Linked DNA regions of Homo sapiens: regions 1 and 2 are each linked to region 3. The links are contacts of gene promoters, found by promoter capture Hi-C in blood cells and fetal thymus (Javierre and others, 2016). All regions are on one chromosome and are shown on one strand. Each heading gives the region's core, a stretch centred on a gene start or on the middle of the fragment in contact. The rest is flanking DNA. Distances are from core to core; before and after follow the strand shown. Region 1 holds the start of MAN2C1 (mannosidase alpha class 2C member 1). Region 2 holds the start of SIN3A (SIN3 transcription regulator family member A). Region 3 holds the start of CLK3-AS1 (CLK3 antisense RNA 1).

Region 1 (4,418 bases), core at 731-3,230, 750 kb after region 3:
AGGCTTTTGGACAGTTCAGGTAAAGTGTAAGCCATGGGGAGTCAGGCCCCTCCATCTGGTTCCCAGCTCTGGGTCCTCTCTCCCAAGCAGGGCCAAGATTGGCAAATCAGGGACCCTTGGCAGTAGATGCCCCAACTCCCATGGCAGCCAGCACCATGACCGTCAAATAGCCCCTGTTTACCAGTGGCAAACCCATGGTCTTATGGGAAGGGCCCTGGGAAGGGGTTAGGCAGCCTGAGTGTGGATTCTGGTGGCCTCTGCACCCCTAAATAAATACCGGGAAAGAAACTCCGTGAAGTCAGGGGCAGGTTTGCCTCATTCCCTGCTACACCCTAGTGCTTAAGGGTATGGCCCAGAATGGACACCAGGAGATATTTGCTGAGCCAGTGAAGGGAGGAAGGGATGGTCTCTGCCTTCTTGTAGCCAGGAAGAACAGTCTTAACCCCAGATTGAGAGTCAGTCCAATTTGAAATAGAAGCTGTGTGAACCTGAGTGAGTCAACTACACATCTGTTTCTTAATTTGTAAATGGGTATAAAGACCTACTAGATAGGAGTATAAGGACTAAACCTGATAAGGGTGGAGCATGAATAAGACACTTAACAGTGGTTATAGCTGGGGAATGGGATGGGTGATAAGGAGAGATCCATTACTTTATCTAGAACTGTTTGAAATGTTTTCCTATAAGTTTGTATTATACACAATAAAAACTAAGGACCAATTGCACAGATGCCCAAGTGGCAACTTCCCTAGTCCTGAAATCCTGATACCACCCTGTGGGCAGAGCAACTCAGCTGTGGCTTCTCCAGAGTCCACAGAAGAAGGGCTGTAGTCATTTCAGGGCTGAAATGTGGCCATACCTGGCCCTAGGACAGGGTTCCTCACCTGGACAGGTTCTCCATCACGCCACACCAGACCTTCTCCATCACTTTCCCAGCAAAGGTGAACTTCCTGGCCCACCCATGCCTCTGGGATGGTCAGCTCCACCCGGAACCAGCAGGTCCACCATCTGCAAGAGAGCTGTTGTGATAGGCCTAGAGGTAGAAGTCCTATCCTGATATCCTTCCTTGGATAAAGTGTCGGCAGGGGCTTGAAACTCTCCAAGCATCTGCAGTGTCACAAGGTACTCAGCTTTGAGTCACAAGAAAGGAGCAACAAGGTGAGAAGCAAGATGAGGGAAACAGGCAGAGGCGTCAAAGGTTCGTGATCCCTAGGGTGCCCTTCCTAAGGGATGTCCAGAGGCGGCCACGTGGGAATGAAAACCATCCCCTGAAGACCCAGGGACCAGAGAGCTGTTCCCAGCAGAGGGTGCTGCTCCCAGCAGAGGGTGCTGCTCGATCCCACGTAGTTGTCTACGGCAGAGGGCAGACAACGAAGGTGTGGCTGGGAGCTGGGTTGGGACTTCCCCTAGGCCTGTGGCCCCGCCCACCCGCTGGGCGTTACCTACGTGGGTCCGAAGCTGTCGCCGACCTGCGCGGGGCGGAAGTCCCGCTGGACTGCCTCCTGGTAGGGAAGTCTCTCCGGCGTCAGGAAGCTGGAGAGCACAGCCACAGGGCAGCTGGCCCCAAAAAGCCTGCGTGGGACGGGCCGGTGGGCACATGCTGGAGGCCGCCCCGTTTCCGCCTGGGGGCCAGCTGGCCGGTGGGGCCGCACTTTCCCTGGATCCTCCGCCAAGAGGGCTGCCTGGCCGCTCCGCGGCACAGTCCATTCCCTACCCCCTCCTCCCCGGCCCCTGCCCTGCCCGCGGCGGGCACTTTGTCCCGCGGCCCGGGTGGCTGCAGCTTAGGTTTCTCCCCGGAAGGAAAGCTTGAGGCGCACGGTTGCGGTCGGCCGGCTGCGGGGGACCAGGGGCCACACCTGCCGCGGAGGTTACAGTCGGTAAAGTAGAGCGGCGACACGAACTTCTCCACCCGCTCCAGCGTGGTGCGCCAGTGCTTCAAGGCCGGCGCAGCCGCCATCGCCGGGCTCTCGCTCCTCTTTCCGGAAGGCCCCTGGCGCTACCGTTCCGCTCCACGGCAGGAAACCAAAGGTTCCGGCGTCCAGAGGGCGCCTCCCAGTCCCGGGCAGCTTTTCTTGGAACACCGGCGGCTCTCGGAAGCCCAGCTGCTGTCTGAACTTTGAGCCGAGTTGGAAGCTAGAAACTGTTTTTGAGGCTCTCCTATGTTGTCCGAAATAGTGGGCCGCAGGGAAAATCTCAAAATAAAATGGGAAATTTGACGATTAGAACTCTCGAAAGTCTCAAGACAGAGACTTAGGCCATTCGGCAAGACAGGCGGGAGCCTCAGCTGCTGCAGACCCAGCCTCAGAAGCAGCAACCGGGAGACCTCTGGCTCTAGCTGTCGGTGAACACGGAAAGTGGTGTTTGCTTAACGTGGAGCCAGACTACCCGGAATAGGTGTTTTCATACCGGACGGAGATCAGGGTGTTAGTGAGCAGGGTGGTAGAGCTTTACGCCCAAGTTACTACGACTTACTCGATTACACGCTTTACTGAATGTATATTGCTAACTCTTGCACATCACCAGAAACTCTGGAGTTTGAGGTGGCAGAACAGTCATGGCATTGACGATCCCAATGGAAAAATGTATTTCACCATACAGGACTGTAGAGTCCCGGGAAGCCATAATACCAGAAACAGACCTCCAGTTTCATTCTCATCCCTAGTACTCCACTGACAGCTTTATTTTTTTTCTCCTGGGGTTGCCAAGAGTCTTTGTCTATAAAATCATTAGGAACAAAAAAAAATACACAAGATTAGCCCTGATATTTTAATGGAAATACTGACCAAGTTTACAACATTTCAAATGCAGATCACACGGAAAGGTGACTAAGTACAGAATAACAAATGTGATTTAAAACAAAGATAACCTGCTGCTGCATATAATACAGGTTGGGTTTAGAGCTTGGAGCTCAGATGTCAGACAGCAGGAGGAATAAAAATGCTACTTGTGAAAACCCAGGCTGTAGGTAAAACTTACTCTTTTGTTGGTTGCACTGGTGGGTTGGGACTTTCTCCTGAACTGGCCTTGAAATCCTATCCTGACCTGCAGGCAAGTGCTCTGGACAAAACACTGCAGGGGCAGCAACAGCTGGGGCTGACCCTGATCACACCCCACCAATTTCCCCTATGGTTCCAGGTCAACATGACCTTTCTTGAGGGAACACGGGGATAGGTGAATTATTTGAGAAAACCTCAAGATCTTTCCCCTAAATCAGTACACATGACCACCGCCAAGTCAGACACTGCCCCAGCTTTGCCCTAAAATCTCATCCCACAAAGCTCTTTTTGGCACCCTACACTTTGGCTCACAGTCTCTTCTCCCCAGTACAAAAAAAGCCTAAAATCAGGCCAGGGTGGCTCACACCTGTAATCTCAGCACTTTGCGAGGCCGAGGTGGGAGGACAGCTTGAGGCCAGGAGTTTGAGACCAACCTGGGCAGCATAGCAAGACCCTGTCTCTACAAAAAGTTAAAAAATTAGCTGGGCGTGGTGGCATGCAGCTACTCAGGAGGCCGAGGTGGGAGGACTGCTTGAGCCTGGGAGGTCAAGCCTGCAGTGAGCTATGATCGTGGCACTGCACTCCAGTGTGGGTCATAAAGCGAGACACTGTCTTTAAACAATAAAAGCCTAAAATCAGAGAGGTCTACCATGTGTTTTGAAAATCCAGGAGCCAAAAAATTTTGTTTTTCTTTTTGGTGGTGGTGGTGATTTTTAACTAAAAAGCAAACATAAAACACACAGAACATTGCTGGTTACAACTAAGACTTGCGTAATGGTTGCTGAAGAAAAATCCACCAGAGTACTGGGAGGGGCTCAGTTGGTCTTTGTTCAGAAAGTCCAGGTTAACCACATAGAAAAATCCTAATCATTCATGTTTAAATGTCTGCTAGTTTAAATTTATGTAATTAAAAAAATAGGTATCCCATTTCAAATTCTCTCCCTCCCAACTCCATTTATAAGGTATACCACATGCCTTATGCACACTTTTTTTTCAAACACTGGTTTGGTATTTAAGTTGCTCACCCCCATCCATCACCAATGTGAATAAGAAAAAATATATAGAAATACAAACTACATAGCTTGACAACTTACCCAAATATAAAATATTTTCAGATTATTTGAACAAGGGAAAAAAACACGTACTAAAAGACTTAAGTATTCTAAGATTTTGGAATATTTTGATTTGGGACAAGTAACAAGTATTTTAAGCAAAATCCTGTTTCTACCCTGGATAAGGAACTGAAGTCAAAATCCCTGCTTCACAGTATTTTCTGGTGAGGACAAGGGACGTGGGTTGAGAGTTTATTCCTTAAGTAAGAACCAAGCTTTATTTATTTACAAAAAAAAAAAAAAAAAAGTTGGGGGCAAAGGGGAAGACAAGTTTTACACAAAAGTACTACAATGGTAACTCCCTTTGGTA
Region 2 (4,231 bases), core at 1,118-3,617, 840 kb after region 3:
ACTCAGGCCCTACTAACCAAAGCACAAATCTAGAATTTCACTTCAGATAATTAACCAGAGGCTCATTTAGACATTACTGCATAAATAAACATTGGTTCCATGTTTATTTTTCTCATGAAAAATGTGAAAAACATTGAAATAATTTCTCTCAATAGGAAAAGATAATGTATCAAGTGAAAGCAAAAACCTCATCTAATGTGGTTCTGCTATCTAAATCTGAAATGCCCTAAGGCAACTCTCCAATACAGGCTGGAGGGCAACGCTACAGAAGTCACATACAGAAGGCTACCCTGATCCACAATTCCACCCTCCTCTGAAATAAAAAGGGCAACAACACTGTACTATGTAGAGTATAAATAGAAAGTGGTCTAGATGGTCTAACATAAGTACATAAAATAAAAAAGAAAAGACTTTTCACCTATAGTTACCTAAATAGCAAATTCTTTAGGAAACCAAGTTTTTTTGGTTGTTTTTTGAGGCGGAGTTTTGCTCCTGTCGCCCAGGCTACAGTGCAATGGCACCATCTCGGCTCACTGCACCCTCGCCTCCCGGGTTCAAGTGATTCTCCTGCCTCAGCCTCCCCAGTAGCTGGGATTACAGGCGCTTGCCACCACGCCCAGCTTTTTTTTGTATTTTTAGTAGAAACAGGGTTTCGCCATGTAAGCCTGGCTGGTCTCGAACTCCTGACCTCAAGTGATCCACCTGCCTCGGCCTCCCAAAGTGCTAGGATTACAGGCATGAGCCACCGCGCCCGTCCAGGAAACTAAGTTTATATAGCAGAACCATGTGCACAATGAAAGCATTCAAAAATACAACTGTCAGAGATATCGGAGTATTTTATTCAAAGTCTGAGTTCTTAAAAAAAAAAAACAAACCCTACTTTATAAACAGACCAGTTTTGAGATTAAAATGTAAATCCAAACTTTCCTGTTATAAATCTCAGCCTTGTAAAGAGGAGGAGCTTCCACTGCCTTTTCAAGGCTAACTTCGTTTAAAGTCCTAACGCACCGAAACAGACGCCAAGTCTACTACCCACCACCCATTGGCTCAAAGGAAGCCCCGCCCCGTACAGCCACGGTAACTGAACATCAAGGGAACCCCAGGGAAGGTTTTCCCTCCGCCACATTTCTAGTCTCTGATGACTCCCTGCCCCTCCCCTACCATCACCACCGCGGATCTAGGGTTCCAGCACCAGCCACGCACGCTCCTACAAGAGGACCTTGGGCACTTCGCCCCAATAGTTACAACCAAGAGGGGAGTGGGGGTGACCATGCTCCCACTCTCCTGGCTGCACGGTGCCAGACACGCTGCATGGAGCAAAGCGGAGAAAGCAGCTCCGGCACAGGGCCCTTGTGCCCCCAGGCAGAAGGCATGACCCAGCCACAAGAGTAAGTCCTGACACCTCCACAGCTCCCAGTCGGCGGGTGCCCCTCCCTCCCCACGGAGACATAGGGCGGGGCAGATCTAGGCGCCGAGACTCCCAGCCAGACCCGACAGCGGGCTTTCCCTAGCACCTCCTCATTGCCAAGGAGGCGGAAACCCGGGGCCTGGGCGGGGTGCAGGGGGGGACGGCCAAGGGGAGTGGCATCACGGATCAGTACGGCCCCTCCGGCCAACCGGATCCCAAGAAGGCGGAGGAACTCAGACTTCACGCCCCCTCCCTGCCGCGCCCTGAATCTACACGCGGGAGACCCCCCCCTACCCCTCCCCGACCCCAGCAGGCCAGAGCGCGGCCGCCAGCCCGAGGCCCCGCCCACCCCAGGAGGAGGGGAGGGGGTGGTCGGCCGCAAACTGCACTCAGCGCGAAGCCGGCCCCGCCCCTTTCTCCACAATCGCACGCGCGCGCCGGCCCCGCCTCTGAGCGGCGGCGCGAGAGCCCGCCCCCCTCCGCGCGCACCGGGACTACGCTCTCCTCCCCCTCCCGCGCGGAGAGCTACCCCGCTCCGCCCCCCACCCCCCTCACACAACCACACACCTCCCGCCCGTCTGCTCTACGGGAAGCCGAGGAGGTCAGCCCCCCCCCCCCAAAATACACACCCTCGAGTCCGGCGTTACCCGCCACCAGGCTCCCGCCCGGCCCCCGGCCCAGCGTGCTCTCACCGCAAAGCTGCTTCGGCCGCTCGTCACTGCGTGTCCCTCTCAGCGTGAGCCGCGAGCTCAGCAGGGAGGCCCCGAGAACGGCGCGGGGCACAGGCCCGCCGAAGCGGACTGCCAGCTACCTCTCCACTAACGAAGCGGTCACAGGCTCCGGTGCCCAGACTGGGAAGGAGGGAGGGAGGGAGGGAGGGAAACTCCGAGGGGGGAAGGGGAGGGGGGAAGATGGAGAAACCGTCTCCGCCGCCTCTACCGCCGCGGCCGCTTCTCTGTTACCCGGGAAATCCCGCCCACTCCCCCGACCCCGCCCCGCAGAGGGAAGACTCAGCTTCGTTCCAATACAGGACGCAATACCCGCCCGTCAAAGACTCAGCCAACCACCGAGGCCTGTCTTATGATTTTCCCGCCCCTTCCCCCTCGACTGGTAGGGGAGGGGGAGCCGCTCTCCTTCTCCACGCCCCTATTGGCGGGGAGCTTCCCTAACTCAACCCCGCCTATTGGAGACGGACTGCTGAAGCCCACCCCCGAGCCCCAACACTATTGGAGGAAGCAGGGAAGCTCTTCCTGTCTCATTGGAGGACACCACATAACCCGCCCTGCAGCGTCTCAGCCACAGGCCTAACAAGTTGGCTCCCGCCTCCGCTGGTCATCGCATTGGAAGGCTACCCCTGGCTCTCCCACCGCCCCAGTAAGGTAAGTAACCGATGTGGGGTAAAATGTCTGTAAGTGAAACAGGCTCCGCCTACCGCACTGCCGGGCCAGGCCCCGCCCCAAGAGTCGGATTGGATATCTTGGCGCTGGTAGGACCCTCCATTGGCCAGGGCGCCCGTCTAGGAAGGAGCTAATTCCACCCTGCGCGAGGAGGCTGAACCTTAGCAGTCCTTTTGTGGAATGTTTACACTAGAGACTGAAGCTCGGAGTTCCAGGGCCCGAGATAGGAGGGGGAGCGGAGCTCATCAGCGGAGACTCCACATCCTAGGATTTGAAGGAAAGGCAGCCCACCATGGAGGACTCCCTCACAAAAAAAATGAGAGAATGAGAACTCATCCTTCCGTCCAGTTATCTTTACAGTTTACATTCTACACACTGCGTCCTTGTAAACACAAATATCCGGAGCAGCTGGCAACTCCTTTCAGCCAAGTAGAGTACAGAACTAAGGTCTGGAGACCTAGGCGGAGAAGTAAACTCCCTAGAGCTGAATATGCAGTCCTAAGAGGGCGGAGATAACCAAAAGAGAGGCGGGCTCTAACAGCCACCGCCCTGGCAAGCCTCCGGAAGGCGGAGCGTGAGGCACAAGGTACTCACGATCTCCCGGGTGGATCTGGAGGCATCCTCAGAACTGAGAAAGGAGAGGAAAACACCAAAACAGGCCACGGCATAAATTAACATTGGGGACATGCCACACTCAGAGAATGGATAAAATTTCCGTAGTTGGGGACATAAGATAACGGCTGTTCACCTTCTCCTTGGCCGGGAGTGTTAATAGCAGTTCCTGTGCCCTCTCTGTGTAGGTAACAGTGCCTCGAACACACAGTGAGACAAAGTGCTTTCAATTCCTAGTTTGCTTTTATTTATTCACCAAATAGGGCGTGGGCCTGACGCTGATCTTACTTTGGGGGGCGCTCTCTCAGCGCCAGGAGAGGTGACGGGATTACGTTGTTACCGCTCTCCCGAATAAGTAGAACCCTCCTCCCAGAGAGCTAAGACCCCAAGGGACACGCCCAGGGAACCCACGCCTAGGTCCAACACTGTCCTCCCTCTGCAATCCAGCGGAAACGGCCAGGAACGAGCTCTGGCAGCAGGTGGGCCTGACTCCAGCGATGGCTTCGAGCCGCGAAACCACAGCAGCGAATTGTGAACTCCAAGGGTAGCCGACAGGTGGGAGCAGCCTCGCCAGTAGCCAAGCCCTGCCCCAGGACAGAGCTCTAAAAATAAGTCAGACCAACGAAGCGACCCCAGGGCCAAACTGCTCGGAGGTTAGGAGGAAGCGGCACTCCAGCAGAACTGACCCACGGCTACTTTTAACTTTGCGCCGCCTTCCACCACTAGACTGAGTACCACAGGGCATTCCCACCATGGTATCAAGAACTACTCAGAACCCAAGCCAGCATTAGGCCGCCCACGACTTCCCGTGAAC
Region 3 (3,961 bases), core at 1,263-3,762:
TACAGACCTCAACTCCACAGAGGCTGAGGACCCAGACAGGAGCTTGGGCCTGAGGGGCAGTGGAGGTGGAGCAAGCCTCCTCTGAGGTGGGGATGGGAGTGGAGGAGTTACCCAAACCTCACCTGGGGGCAGATCTTTCTCCAAGTTTCTGAAAGGTGTGAAAGTCACAAAAGAATGAAGCTCTAAGGGTAGAATCTCAGGCAGGATGGCCTCCAGGCTGCAAAGTGTGGAGAGGGAGACAGCTGGGAGATGGCTTCTGTTCCACCTCAGAAAAAGAGAGTTGCTTCGTGGCTGGGAGGTAGGGACTCCTGGATTCTCAGTGGTGGGCAGTTTTGTGGGAAGGTGACTAACTTACCCCATCAGAGCCTATAGCTCAGGGCAGGGCTGGGGACAGAAGCTTCTCTGAGAACATCCATCCCGGGGACAGAAGCTTCTCTGAGAACATCCATCCCTCAGGGCTAGTATCCTGGAGCCATGGAAACTCAGGCAACACTAAGTGGTGGGAGGAGGAGACACCAGAGAGGCCTCCTACTCCACCTCATCTGAGCTGATGAAACCCCGAGATGGAACCTGGCTAGTGTGGTCGAGGCCATGGGTACCAGGCAGGAATGGCATCTCAGATGGCCTGGGATTTTTCAAAATCTTCAGCTTTTGAGATAGGACCTTAGGGGGCAGGACCTCAGCAGCCAATCTGGGTCACCCACTGTACACTGAAGCGGCTCCTAACTTTCTTTTTTGAGACGGAGTTTTGCTCTCTTGCGCAGGCTGCAGTGAAGTGGCGCGATCTCGGCTCACTGCAATCTCTGCCTCCCGGGTTTAAGTGATTCTCCCACCTCAGCCTCCCGAGCATCTGGGACTACAGGCGCGTGCCACCACGTCTAGCTAATTTTTGTATTTTTAGTAGAGACGGGGTTTCGCCATGTTGGCCAGACTGGTCTCGAATTCCTGACCTCAGGTGATCATCCACCTCAGCCTCCCAAAGTACTGGGATTAGAGGGGTGAACCACCGCGCTTGGCCGATTTTTTGTTTATTTTTTGAGACAGGGTCTCCTTCTGTCGACCAGGCTGGAGTGCAGTGGTGTGATCATAGCTCACTGCAATCTCAACCTCCTGGGATCAAGCGATCCTCCTGCCTCAGTCCCCTGCAAGGAGCTGGAACTACAGGCATGCGCCACCCAGTCCGGCTAATTTTTGTAATTTTTTGGAAGGGGACCCAGTTTTGAATTAGCTTCTGTTGTTTACTTCGGATAGCCATGGTGGAGCTGGCAGAGATTTAGGGGATACTAAACACCCCTACAAATCACGCCTTGAAACCCCCCGTTTCAGGGAGAGCCGCTGGCGAAGGACTTGATGCGCAGCCGCAGCTCGGAAGCGGGGGGCTCCCCTGCGACACCTCCCCGCTTCAGGGGCGGGCCCAGACCCGCGGGGAGGGGCATGGGCGGGGCCGCGGCTGGCTGGCGGCCGCCGGGGCGGTGCTGGGGAAACCCTTGGCGCCCCCGCGGAGCGGTCCCAAGGAGGGGGCGGTGCCTGGAGGGATGGTCCGCCCCGACTGCGGGTTTCTAGCCCTCGCGTGGCGTGGGGACAATTAGGCGCCACGCCCTGTCGCTTCACTGCGCGACGCTCGCGAGGCCGGGGACGCCACTCCCAGACCGGGCGGGACGCGCACGCTCACAGTGAGGTCTCAAAAGATCCCCACCTCAGTTTTCTCATCTGGAAAGTGGGGCCTCGTAATCCTGTCCGACCCGGCGCGGGACAGTAGGTGTCAGGGATTTTGGTGACCCCACGCTCGAGGCCTCTGCAAAAGGGGGCTGTCCAGTGGCCCAGAGACGCAGCCGGCGGGGCTTTTGTCTAGCGGGGGAGTCTTAACTGAGAGGCCACGCAGGCCGGCAGGAAGCCGCTCCACAGGAGGGGGCTCAAGGAGAGGGGATCTCCTCCCTCCAGACTCCGGCCCCGCCAGAGTAGCTCTAGGGTATCTTCCCAGAAACTGCCCCGCACGCACTGGCGAGCTGGGAGCGCCACCACGGCTTTCAAAAAACCCGCACACACCAAGATAATAATGTGTCGTTCGCTCGTTTCGCGCAAGCGGAGTCGCGTCCGCCTTCCCGAGCTCCGGCACACAGACCTCAGGCCGCTCTCGCGCTCTCCGGGGCCCCGAGAACAATGCCCGTCCTCTCCGCGCGCAGGAGGGAGTTGGCGGACCACGCGGGGTCGGGGCGACGGAGCGGGCCCAGCCCCACGGCCAGGTCGGGGCCCCACCTCTCGGCTCTGAGAGCCCAGCCGGCCCGGGCCGCGCACCTGTCAGGTCGGGGGACCTACGTGCGCCGCGACACGGCGGGAGGCGGGCCGGGCCAGGCTCGTCCCCTCGGCCCTCCCGGAACTAGTCTCCTAGGCCGCGGCGCCCGCCGGAGCGGAGAGGGCTGGTGCCCCGGAGCCTTCGAGTCGGGGGCTAGAGCGGCCAGGCCTCCGAGCCGGGTCGAGCCGAGGCTGGCGACGGCTGCGTCACGCGAGGGGGCGGGGCTGCCACGGGCGGAGGTCGCAGCCGGAAGCGGAAGAGGCGCTCGGAGCGGGGAGTGGGGCCTAGCTGCAGCCGGAGCCTGGGAGACGGTAAGTGTGGGCTGGGGTCCGCGGCGGCGACAGCGGCGGCGGCGGCCGGGGGTGAGTCGGCGGGGCAGGCGCGCTGGTGCCATTCGGTCTCGGCCTACTCCCTTTCTTTCTCCTCTTCGGCCCATATCGGGCCGCGACCTCTCACCCCTGACCCGCTGCTTCTGCCCCGGAGGGCGGTCACTGCAGACCCTGACCTCGACCCCACGGTGTTGAAGGCGGAGCCTGAACGGCCTCTGGGGCCGCTCAAGGGTCCAGTTTGGGCTCTGTGCCTGCCCGCGGAATGGGGTCGGGGTCCGACGTAGAAGAGCCAGAGAAGCCCTTCAGACCCCTCCCCTACCCCTGGCTTCAGGCTTAGTCCGCAGATGACTCCTCCCTTGGCGGCCTGGAGTTTGATTCTGGCCCAGTCCGGCTTTCCCTCTGTCCCCGGGTCTCCCCTCGGCGCCACTGGTGGCGGTTACAGGGGATGGGACTCTGAGACCCCCTGGGACCTGGGGCGGCAGGAAGGGACGCGAACGAGGGCGCAGGCTCCCCTGTGTGTTTTGTTGTGGTGGTAGAGCCACTCCAGCCCGGAGGATGGGCTAGGCCAAGCTGACAGTTCAAATCCCCTGGCTGCTCCTCCGTCCCGCCCGGGAGTCTCTAGCTTTAGTTCCGGGTGTGGGTGCCCTGATGTGGAGCTGGGGTGGAAATTGCCTGAACCAGGCCCCCATCAGAGGCGGAGTTGGCGGCCTTCCAGCTTCCCTTCTTGATGCCCTTGAAAAGGAGGAGCGTTTCACCGTTGGTGGTGGAGGCTTGCGAGGTGGCAGGTTTGAGGTTGCAGTGGTAGGGCAGTCCAGCCAAAAATAACCATGGGTGCTGGGGTGGCTGGAATCCGGGAGGGCAGCCGCTGACCTGGCTGGCTGCACTTCTAGTCAGCCCAGTTCTCTGGCCAGGAACAGCAAATGAGAAGCCGACAAGGCCTGTGCTCAAAGTTGACATCCTTGGCTTGGTTTTCTTCATATCACCTTTTTCCTCATTGTGCAGAGCAGAGCTTCCCAAAGCATAATTGTGGCCTTTAGCTGCTTTTTAAACAAGCTGTTTGCTGAGGTTTTCGAGAATCAGAGATAATTGAGAAATGGGCCCTAGAGCCCTGGCTGGGAGGATGATATCTGCTATTTCCAATATTTTACTTGCCTAGAATGTGTTAAAGGAAGGATACTCTTCTCTGTTATTGCTTTGTGTGTGGTACCTTATAACTCTCATGCTTGTCATCTCTTTTGCCAGGCTGAGAGATGTTATCTCCATTTTCCAGGCATGCTAACCAAGGCCTAGAGTGACTTGTCTAAGGTCATGAGGCTGGTATGTGACAGCACTAGGATTT

Evidence for each region. The method cuts DNA at HindIII sites, captures the fragments that hold promoters and counts their contacts. A CHiCAGO score of 5 or more calls a contact.
Region 1: a contact is called between the fragment with the promoter of MAN2C1 here and a fragment that was not itself captured in region 3, in 1 of 17 cell types (naive CD4 T cells). The highest score is 5.0, in naive CD4 T cells.
Region 2: the fragment with the promoter of SIN3A here is called in contact with a fragment that was not itself captured in region 3 in 4 of 17 cell types (naive CD4 T cells, neutrophils, non-activated CD4 T cells and 1 more); the score reaches 7.6 in naive CD4 T cells.

Annotation. Positions count from the first base shown.
Region 1 is chr15:75,366,627-75,371,044 of GRCh38, forward strand. MAN2C1 (mannosidase alpha class 2C member 1) reads right to left here and starts at 1,981. Exons shown (of 26, transcript NM_006715.4): 1 at 1,857-1,981; 2 at 1,447-1,572; 3 at 885-1,008. The coding sequence starts at 1,957. It overlaps SIN3A (SIN3 transcription regulator family member A), which reads right to left. Exons shown (of 21, transcript NM_001145358.2): 21 at 2,753-4,418. RefSeq lists a silencer at 1,648-1,727 and enhancers at 1,754-2,286, 1,858-2,177, 1,862-2,156. The HindIII fragment of the contact is 2,518 bases long and covers 1,804-4,321 here.
Region 2 is chr15:75,449,323-75,453,553 of GRCh38, forward strand. It overlaps SIN3A (SIN3 transcription regulator family member A), which reads right to left and starts at 2,368. Exons shown (of 21, transcript NM_001145358.2): 1 at 2,101-2,368. RefSeq lists enhancers at 786-1,705, 1,133-1,262, 2,973-3,022, 3,252-3,783, 3,784-4,231 and 1 more and silencers at 1,513-2,012, 2,233-2,332. The HindIII fragment of the contact is 8,340 bases long and covers 1-4,231 here.
Region 3 is chr15:74,613,295-74,617,255 of GRCh38, forward strand. It overlaps CLK3-AS1 (CLK3 antisense RNA 1), which reads right to left and starts at 2,498. Exons shown (of 9, transcript XR_007064715.1): 1 at 1-2,498. CLK3 (CDC like kinase 3) reads left to right here and starts at 2,542. Exons shown (of 13, transcript NM_001130028.2): 1 at 2,542-2,604. RefSeq lists silencers at 1,317-1,636, 2,057-2,596 and enhancers at 2,685-3,296, 3,297-3,907. The HindIII fragment of the contact is 4,168 bases long and covers 429-3,961 here.